Regions from separate parts of the Homo sapiens genome. Here region 2 is linked to region 1. Evidence: promoter capture Hi-C in 16 types of primary human blood cells and fetal thymus (Javierre and others, 2016). All regions are on one chromosome and are shown on one strand. Each heading gives the region's core, a stretch centred on a gene start or on the middle of the fragment in contact. The rest is flanking DNA. Distances are from core to core; before and after follow the strand shown. Region 1 holds the start of ATP2A1 (ATPase sarcoplasmic/endoplasmic reticulum Ca2+ transporting 1). Region 2 overlaps SRCAP (Snf2 related CREBBP activator protein).

Region 1 (4,342 bases), core at 1,166-3,665:
TCAGGTGTGACAGGAGGATCACTTTCCATCCCTGGGCGTGGAGACCCCTGTGGGAAGGGATCCCCGAGGGCGCCTCTGGCTCAGCCTCCCTCCATGGCAGTTCACACCCACAGCCTTCCCTAGAGCAGCCCTTCTGCAGCTCCTGGCGGGTGGCTTTCCCTCCCTGGCTTGTTTCCCCCTCTGGGAAGCCGGGGGAGGTAGAAATGAATAACCTTAAAGGCCTGTTGGCAGGAATGTGCTGCCAAGCCTGCCCCCTGCCCTCTGTCTCAGGCTCTCGACTCCCTCGAAGCTGCCCATCTCTCCGTCTGCCCCTCTCCATGTTTGGGCATTCCCACTGCTGTAAGACAGTAGCCCCTGTCACTCCTCCAGGTGCCGGTGGGGAGACGCCGGCCAGCGCCAAAAGCCTTGGCGGGTGTGAGCCTGAGTCCAGCGGAGACGGTGGGTGCTGGGCCGGGTGGAGGTGCCGGGGGCTGTGTCTCTTGGAAGAGAGGCTGCTAATGCTCTCCTGCACCCCCAATTCAGCCCACTGTCCCCCACTCCCCTCAGGTCACAGCAGGATTCTGCTTCAGGGGAGGGGTTTGTTGGAACTGTGAAAAGGAGGCAGGAAGGAGCACCTTGTCCTCAACTCACCCAGGAGGCCGCGCCTCACCCAAGTCCAGGCAGAAGGGATGCATCTGGGAGGCTGAACCCTCAAGTTCCATCCACCCCTGCTGCCATCCCCCTCCCCAAAAGTGGGGGCCTCCCTTTTCTTTGCTCTGCTGTCTCCTATTCTGTCCTCTGCTTCGGAGTTTGAGCCCCAGAATGGAAAGCAGCCTTAAGAAGCCACACTTAGGAAGTCCACATGCCTCTGCTCATTTCAGGAAACAGGCCTAGACAGAGGACGGACTTGAGCCCAGGGCACCAGGCCCCTTCCCCTCACTGACCTTTCACCCTGACTCTCATCCAGCCTTTCTGCCTGCCTGTCCTCCCCTTCCTGCACCCCTGGTACCCTCCCTCGGCTCCTCCAGCAGCTGCCCTGGTGGTAACCAAGAGACGCCCCCATCCTGGAGCAGGGGTGGGGAGGGGCAGCTCAGAGCAGCTGCTTCTCTGAGGAAGCTGACACCAAGGCCAGCATTCAGCAACAACTTGTGGCTTTGCACCCAGCGCCGGGGTCCCCGCCCACCTGGCTCCCTGCTGTCCCTCTTCCCCACTGCTGCTCGGACTTCCCTCTGACCCTGGTGGCTCTGTGTCTCTGCTCCCTTTCCCCCTAGGTCTAGACATCTGTCCTTATTTCCCCCAGACCTGTCCCCAGAAGTCCACCCTTCCCCATTCCTTTGGTCTGGAGCCCCTGCTTGGTCCAGCTTCCCCAGGCCCCGACACCTTTCTGTGGGGTCTGCCTAGCTCCTGCACGCACACAGCATGGGCCTGATCCTGTTCCCCTCGTGGACAGATGCAGCAGGGCAGAGTGCAGCGCAGACCACAGGCCTCTGGGGCTGGCCACAGAAACCCCGTTGGTTAGAGCACAGTGTGGGATGAGGTGACCCTCAGTGCACGACTTGGGGTGACCCCTGCCCCCATCCTGAGACAGTTACCCCTCCCCCTCTGCCATCAGCACATTCTGTAGCCTCTTGGGTTACTTGGCTGCCTTGGTGTCCCATTTTCTTGGGGGTGGGGTGGGGATTCCCTATCCAGGATGGGGGGGCCCTCAGGGCTCTGTTCCCAGAGGCTGAGTTAGAGCGATGGGGAAGGGGGGGGGCAGTTTTGGGGAGAGACAGGCAGTGCTGGCTTTGCTCACCAGGGCCTGGACACTAAATCCCTTGTTGATGGCTGTGGCAACCCCTCCCTAGGGTAGGGTTACCATCTTCGGCCCTGTCCCCTTGACTCTCTCCCCTCACTTCCCCTTGTCCCTCTAGGAGCCACTCACTTCCTCTAGCCCCCAAAAGATGTTCTCCCTTCATCAGTCCCCCAAAGGCTTGGGGTATCTCTGCCACTGCTTCAGCAAATGGGGTGAGGAGGAAGGAGACTGCGGCAATGGAAACAGGCTCCGGGCAGATGAGGCAGGAAGGGGGGTGTGAGGAAAGGGACAGGTGAGGCCGGGGATGGAAGAGGGCTCCGGGAAGAACTGGGGGGATGAGTTTGGAATGGGAAATTCAATGCAGCTGGGGAAGTCGAGGCAATGGGGGGGCAGGGTCAGTAGCAGATGACAGAAAGTGAAGTCTCTCCCTACCCCACTTCCCTGGGGCTGGGGCTACCTTTGCGTCCCTCATGAGTGACATCTCAGGCTGCAGCCCCACTGTTCCCCCTCTGTCAGCAGAAATATCTCTCTTTTCTGACCACCTCCTGCTGGAGTCTCAGCCAGCCAATCCCTGATCTGGTGGAGGGGGGAGCCCGGCCTCCCCCTGCTCCCTCATAAGGACCAGCTGGGGGCCGGGGGGTGGCCGGCTGCTCAAGTGGGACGGGGGTCAGAGCTTTGTGGAGGGAAGAAAAACCTGGAGGGGGCAGGAGAGTAAAAAGAAGAAACCCAGGCAGACAGGCAGTTGGACACACTGAGGAAGACCCCCCACGAGTGGGAACCCCCTGGAAGGAACACACCGGCCCCGGCCCCCAGGAAGGGAGCACAATGGAGGCCGCTCATGCTAAAACCACGGAGGAATGTTTGGCCTATTTTGGGGTGAGTGAGACCACGGGCCTCACCCCGGACCAAGTTAAGCGGAATCTGGAGAAATACGGCCTCAATGGTAAGTGTCCCTTGGAAGAGCGGCTGGTAATTAATGCCCTCCTGCACCCCCAAAACACACGCACACGCATGCACGCGTTTCTCCCTTCAGGGTTTCTTAAGGAAGAGCTGGGCCGTTGTCCAATGCTCGCAGGGGGAAGAAGATACTGAGAAAACAGAGTCCCGAGATCCAGAGTTTTGGGAGGTTTTAATGGGATGAACTTGATGAACCTCAAGGTGGCCTGATTCTCTTAGCCACAAAGTCTTGGGTGTGGGGGGCATGAGGCTGAACCCCAAATGAATCTGTCCTTTTCTTCTTTTTCCTGGGTAGAGCTCCCTGCTGAGGAAGGTAAGTTACTGGAATCCCTGAACTCTCATAAATGACCACCCCCCACCCCGCCCTGTCCCACTCCCTCCTCCCTGCCTCTTTAGATTCTTTGAGCAAATATCCCTTCCCAAAAGGCAAATCTCCCTCCCTAAAGGTTAGAGTCCTGTCCGGGGCAGAAGTCTCCCAGGCGCTTTCTCCTTGAAGCAGCCAACCCTTGAACTGCCCCCCACTTTGCCGAGTCTGTTTCTGGACTCCAGGCGAGCTTCTTAGCCCTTCTCTGGGCACCAAGCTGTCTGCCCACCACCCTAGAGCCTCCCCACTGCAGGCCGGAGTCCAGGGCGCTCCATCCCAGACCTTCACCCACTAGACCTTAACCCGGGGCCCTCCCCTTGCCTCCTCCCCCAGGGAAGACCCTGTGGGAGCTGGTGATAGAGCAGTTTGAAGACCTCCTGGTGCGGATTCTCCTCCTGGCCGCATGCATTTCCTTCGTAAGTGTGGGAGGGTCTCTGGGGGCTGGCTGGGGGTGTGAGGCTGGGATCGGGCGAATGCGGGGCTCGCAGTCACTGGATCCTCCCGTCCGAGTCCCGAGCATCCCATTGTACAGACGGGGCGGGCTGGCGCGCAGCAGCGGGTGTGATTCGCGTCCTCCTCTCTCCTCCCCTGCACCCCAGAGGCAGGTTTTATTTTAAGCTTTAAGGGTGTTCTCAGCCAAAACACCGAAGCTAAGCCACCCTCGCGGCTTCAAGAGCTTGGAGAGCTCGGGTTACCCACCCGAACTCCGGGCTCCGGGTCCCGCCGCGATGCCGGCTGCGGCGCGGGGGGCCACTGCCACTCCCGGCATGCGCCGGGCGGACGGCCGCTCCACCAATCCCCGCGCCCGTCGGCGCCCCTGCCCCGCCCTCCCCAGCCTCCTGACGCTGATTGGTCGAGGGGAGGACTCGCTCCTAGTGGCGGGAAAGCGCGGCGGTGTGATGATGACTCCAAGGAGCCCGGCGCCCGGTCAGGGAGGGCACTGGCATCCCTCATTACCCGCCCAGCCTGGCCTTAGCCCTTCCCCGCGCTCCCTAGGCACCCCCACCCCCGCAGGGCATCTCCAGGGCTCTGCCTCCTCTCCCGCCCTGGGGGCTACTCCCCATCCCGCGGTCCATCTGCATGTCGCGGGTTCTTCCGCAGCATGTGAGCCTCGCTGGGGACTCTGGAGGCAACGAAAGCCTCCCTGTGCCTTGGTCTCCGAACGCAGGCCCCGTCGCGTTAAGCACAAGCTGGCAGGGCCTCTCCTCTCCCTTCTCAGATTTGCTCCTTGACATTTGCCTGCTGCC
Region 2 (4,342 bases), core at 577-3,076, 1.8 Mb after region 1:
GCCACTGCACTCCAGCCTGAGCAACCGAGTAAGATCCTGTCTCAAAAAAAAAGGAGAAAATAGACACAAAAGCACTTTGTAAACTGTGATGCTCTTAAGATTTACTGGTTTCTATTTATTTCTATCGTGCAGTCTGTATTACATTTATCCAGTGGTAAGTGTGGTCTCTGGGCCAGCAGCATCAGCATCACCTGGGAACTTAGTAGAAACACAAATTCTTTGCCGGGCGTGGTGGCTCATGCCTGTAATCCCAGCACTTTGGGAGGCCGAGGCGGGTGGATCACCTGAGGTCAGGAGTTCGAGACCAGCCTGGCCAACGTGGCAAAATCCCATCTCTGCTAAAAATACAAAAATTAGCCTGGCGTGGTGGCGCAGGCCTGTAGTCCTAGCTACTCAGGAAGCTGAGGCAGGGAAATTGCTTGAACTGGGAACCGGAGGTTGCAGTGACCTGAGATGATGCCACTGCACACCAGCCTGGGTAACAGTGAGACTCTGTCTCAAAAAAAAATGCAAATTCTTGGTACCTCTCACCCACCGACCCATTTGAAACTATGAGGGTAGGGCCCAGCAATGTTTTTATTTTTTATTTTTATTTTTATTTTATTTATTTATTTTGTTGAGACGGAGTCTCGCTCTGTCGCCCAGGCTGGAGTGCAGTGGCAGAATTTTGGCTCACTGCAAGCTCCGCCTCCCGGGTTCACAGCCATTCTCTGGCCTCAGCCTCCTGAGTAGCTAGGACTACAGGCGCCCGCCATCACACCCGGCTAAATTTTTTGTATTTTTAGTAGAGATGGGGTTTCACCATGTTGGCGGGATGGTCTTGATCTCTTGACCTTGTGATCTGCCAGCCTCGGCCTCTGAAAGTGCTGGGATTACAGGCATGAGCCACTGCGCCCGGCCACAATTGGGTTTTTTTTTTTTTCCTTGAGACGGAGTCTCAGTCTTTCGCTGAGGCTGGAGTGCAGTGGCATGATCTCGGCTCACTGCAAGCTCCGCCTCCTGGGTTCACGCCATTCTCCTGCCTCAGCCTCCCGAGTAGCTGGGACTAAGCGCTCGCCACTATGCCTGGCTAATTTTTTGTGTTTTTAGTAGACACGGGGTTTCACCGTTTTAGCCAAGATGGTCTCGATCTCCTGACCTTGTGATCCACCCGCCTTGGCCTCCCAAAGTGCTGGGATTACAGGTGTGAGCACAACCTGTTTCTAAAAGTCCTCCAGATGATTCCGGTGCCTCCTCAAGTTTGAGAGCAGCTGGTCTAATATCCACGTCTTTCTTGATGTTTCCTTCACTGTCAGGCCATTTAGTCCTGTCTGGTCTCTGGCTGTCATTTTCTCTGATTTAGTTTTTATCAGGAGAGGACAGAAATAACAAAGACAGAGGCTGGGTGCGGTGGTTTTCGCCTATAATCTGAGCATTTTGGGAATCCCAGGCAGGCGGATTGCTTAAACCCAGGAGTTCCAGACCAGCCTTGACATTGTGAAACCTCGCCCCTACGAAAAATACAAAAAAATTAGCTGGGCATGGTTGCATGTGCCTATAGTCAGTCTCAGCTACCTGGGAGGCTGAGTTGGGAGGCTGAGTTGGGAAGATAACCTGAGCCTAGGCAGCAGAGTGAGACCCAGAAAAATCTCACTCAGATTTCTGAGTGAGATTCAGAAAAAGAAATAAGGCAGTTGTCCTGAATTTTTTGAGTCGTCTCTGTCAAAAAAATTTTAAATGCTTTTTAAATAAAAGACAATCAGTGTAGAAGCTTTAGTAAAAATGACCACTCTTTTTTACACCTAATCAGTGTTAAACATTTCACGTATAACGTTTCAGTATTTTTTACATAAACATATGCATTTTTACAAAAGTAGTATTTTTAAAAACAACAGTGTGTCAGTTGGGCATTATAGCATATTTCTAAGCTTAATGCATCATGAAAATACTCTGAGTAAGTAGAATTCTACAATGATGATGACCCCTTGTATCTAGAATCAAGAGGGAAGTATGTGTTCCCTACTCCTCTGGGAAGCTCCTCTTGGGATATGATTTCCCAAGTCTCTCCTATGTCTATGGGGTGTGGAGATTGTGTTAAATAATGGAAAGAGCATGAAATTTGCTGTCTGGAGTCCTCAGACCTATTTTTGATTCACATTTTCTATTACTTTCTAGCTGTGTGATCTTGGGCAAATCACTTAATCTCCCTGATCTTTTTTCCTTCTTCATCTCCCTGATCTTTTTTCCCTTCTCTGAAGAGAGTATGATACCTGCCTGTAAGTTTGGTATGTGGACTAAACATAAGCATAACACACTCAGCCCACTTAGTGCTCAGGAATTCAGCCGTGGCAGTGAGATGGAGTGTGTGTTTAGAACTGTTGATTGATCTGGCTCTCCCTGATTAGGAGGCCGAGATCGAGACTCGGATTGCTGAGCTGCGGAAGGAGGGTTTCTGGTCACTGAAGAGGCTGCCTAAGGTGCCAGAGCCCCCTCGCCCCAAAGGTCACTGGGACTATTTGTGCGAAGAGATGCAGTGGCTCTCTGCTGACTTTGCTCAGGAGCGCCGTTGGAAACGGGGTGTGGCCCGGAAGGTAGGTCTTCCGCTGGGACTTCCTTCCTTTTCCTTTTCAGGTCTGTTCCTTCCCGGTTTGTTGGAAGGGGACCAGACAGAATGGTGTAGGCATTAAGAGCAAACTCTTGATTTTCCAGATTTCTTGGCCTTGATTATTTTCTTTGCCTTTGGGTGGGGAAGTCTGGCTTTGAGTGTTTTCACCCTGGGTCTTCATTCCCACAGGTGGTGCGCATGGTGATCCGGCACCACGAGGAGCAGCGGCAGAAAGAGGAACGGGCCCGGAGGGAGGAGCAGGCCAAGCTGCGTCGAATTGCTTCCACCATGGCCAAGGATGTCAGGCAGTTCTGGAGCAATGTGGAGAAGGTAGACAGTGGGGATCAGGAAAGGAAAATGGCCTTGGATTAGATTGGTAGATGGCGTGGTAGTAGGAATGATCAAAACTTCTTGAGGGAGTAAATATAATTTCAGGCAACTCTAATGACGTTTATGTTGTATGGATAAAAAAGTATAGTGGCAAAATATGGGTCCTGCCTTTGGGGATTGTTAATAGTTCTCCTTGACACCTCTAGGCCATCTGTCCCTTGCAGGGCATTTAGCATGTGTTTACTGAAATGTATTTGTGCCACTTAGCACATGCTTAAATTCCGTCAAAGTTCCCACTGCCTGTATAGTAAGTTGTAATTATTTCTTAAGTACTACCCAGTTTCCGTCTGTATTTTCGGTCTTGCCTCCTGCCATGTTCATTCCTTCTCCCTTCCACTCCACACCCACCTTTCTTTTGTATATCTCTGTCCATTTACACATAGACTTTATGCTGCTGGGAATGCTTTTTTCCTCATGTGTACTTAGGGAACAGCCACCTATTTTTTAATTGTCTTGGACAGAGTCTTGCTGTGTCTCCTAGGCTGGAGTGCAGTGGTACGATCACAGCTCACTGCATCCTCAACCTCCTGGGCTCACGCGATCTTCCTGCCTCGATCTCCCAAGTATCTGGGACTACAGGCGCGTGCTACCACATCTTGCTAATTAAAAAAATTCTTTTTAATTTCTTTTTTTTTAATTTTTTTGTGAAACAGAGTCTCACCCCGTCACCTAGGGCAGTGGCGCAATCTTGGCTCACTGCAACCTCTGCCTCCCAGGCTCAAGTGATTCTCCTGCCTCAGGCTCTGGAGTAGCTGGGATTACAGGCATGTGCCACTATGTCTGGCTAATTTTTGTATTTTTAGTAGAGACAGGGTTTTGCTGTGTTGGCCAGGCTGGTCTTGAACTCCTGACCTCAGGTTATCCACTCGCCCCAGCCTCTCAAAGTGCTGGGATTATAGACGTGAGCCACCGCACCTGGCCTAAAAATATTTTTTTGTGGAGACAAGGTCTCGCTGTTACATACCAAGCTGATCTTGAATTCCTAGGCTCAAGCGATCCTCTCACTTTGGCCTCCCAAAGTGTGAGCCACTATGCCTGGCTTCACCTACCTGTTTTTTTGTTTTTGAGACGGAGTCTCGCTTTGTTCCCAGGCTGGAGTGCAGTGGTGCAATCTGGGCTTACTGCAACCTCTGCCTCCCAGGTTCAAGCGATTCTCCTGCCTCTGCCTCCGGAGTAGCTGAGTTTACAGGTGCCCGCCACCACGCCTGGCTAATTTTTTATTTTTAGTAGAGATGGGGGTTTCACCATGTCGGTCAGGCTGGTCTCGAACTCCTGACCTCACGTGATCCTCCCACTTCAGCCTTCCAAAGTGCTGAGAATACAGGCATGAGCCACTGTGCCTGGCCCACCTACCTATTTTTTGAGACC

The links. Contacts are between HindIII fragments. The CHiCAGO score rates a contact against its expected background, and 5 or more counts as called.
Region 2: a contact is called between a fragment that was not itself captured here and the fragment with the promoter of ATP2A1 in region 1, in 1 of 17 cell types (total B cells). The highest score is 5.0, in total B cells.

Annotation. Positions count from the first base shown.
Region 1 is chr16:28,876,073-28,880,414 of GRCh38, forward strand. It overlaps ATP2A1 (ATPase sarcoplasmic/endoplasmic reticulum Ca2+ transporting 1), which reads left to right and starts at 2,416. Exons shown (of 23, transcript NM_004320.6): 1 at 2,416-2,717; 2 at 3,027-3,044; 3 at 3,429-3,511. The coding sequence starts at 2,600. It overlaps ATP2A1-AS1 (ATP2A1 antisense RNA 1), which reads right to left and starts at 3,849. Exons shown (of 2, transcript NR_046290.1): 1 at 3,470-3,849; 2 at 2,885-3,032. RefSeq lists enhancers at 1,387-1,456, 1,467-1,556, 2,802-3,575 and silencers at 3,646-3,695, 3,716-4,065. The HindIII fragment of the contact is 4,054 bases long and covers 1-3,711 here.
Region 2 is chr16:30,704,799-30,709,140 of GRCh38, forward strand. It overlaps SRCAP (Snf2 related CREBBP activator protein), which reads left to right. Exons shown (of 34, transcript NM_006662.3): 5 at 2,385-2,570; 6 at 2,774-2,914. Among named protein-coding and RNA genes, the nearest start is that of SNORA30, 3.6 kb to the right of the region's middle. The HindIII fragment of the contact is 157 bases long and covers 1,749-1,905 here.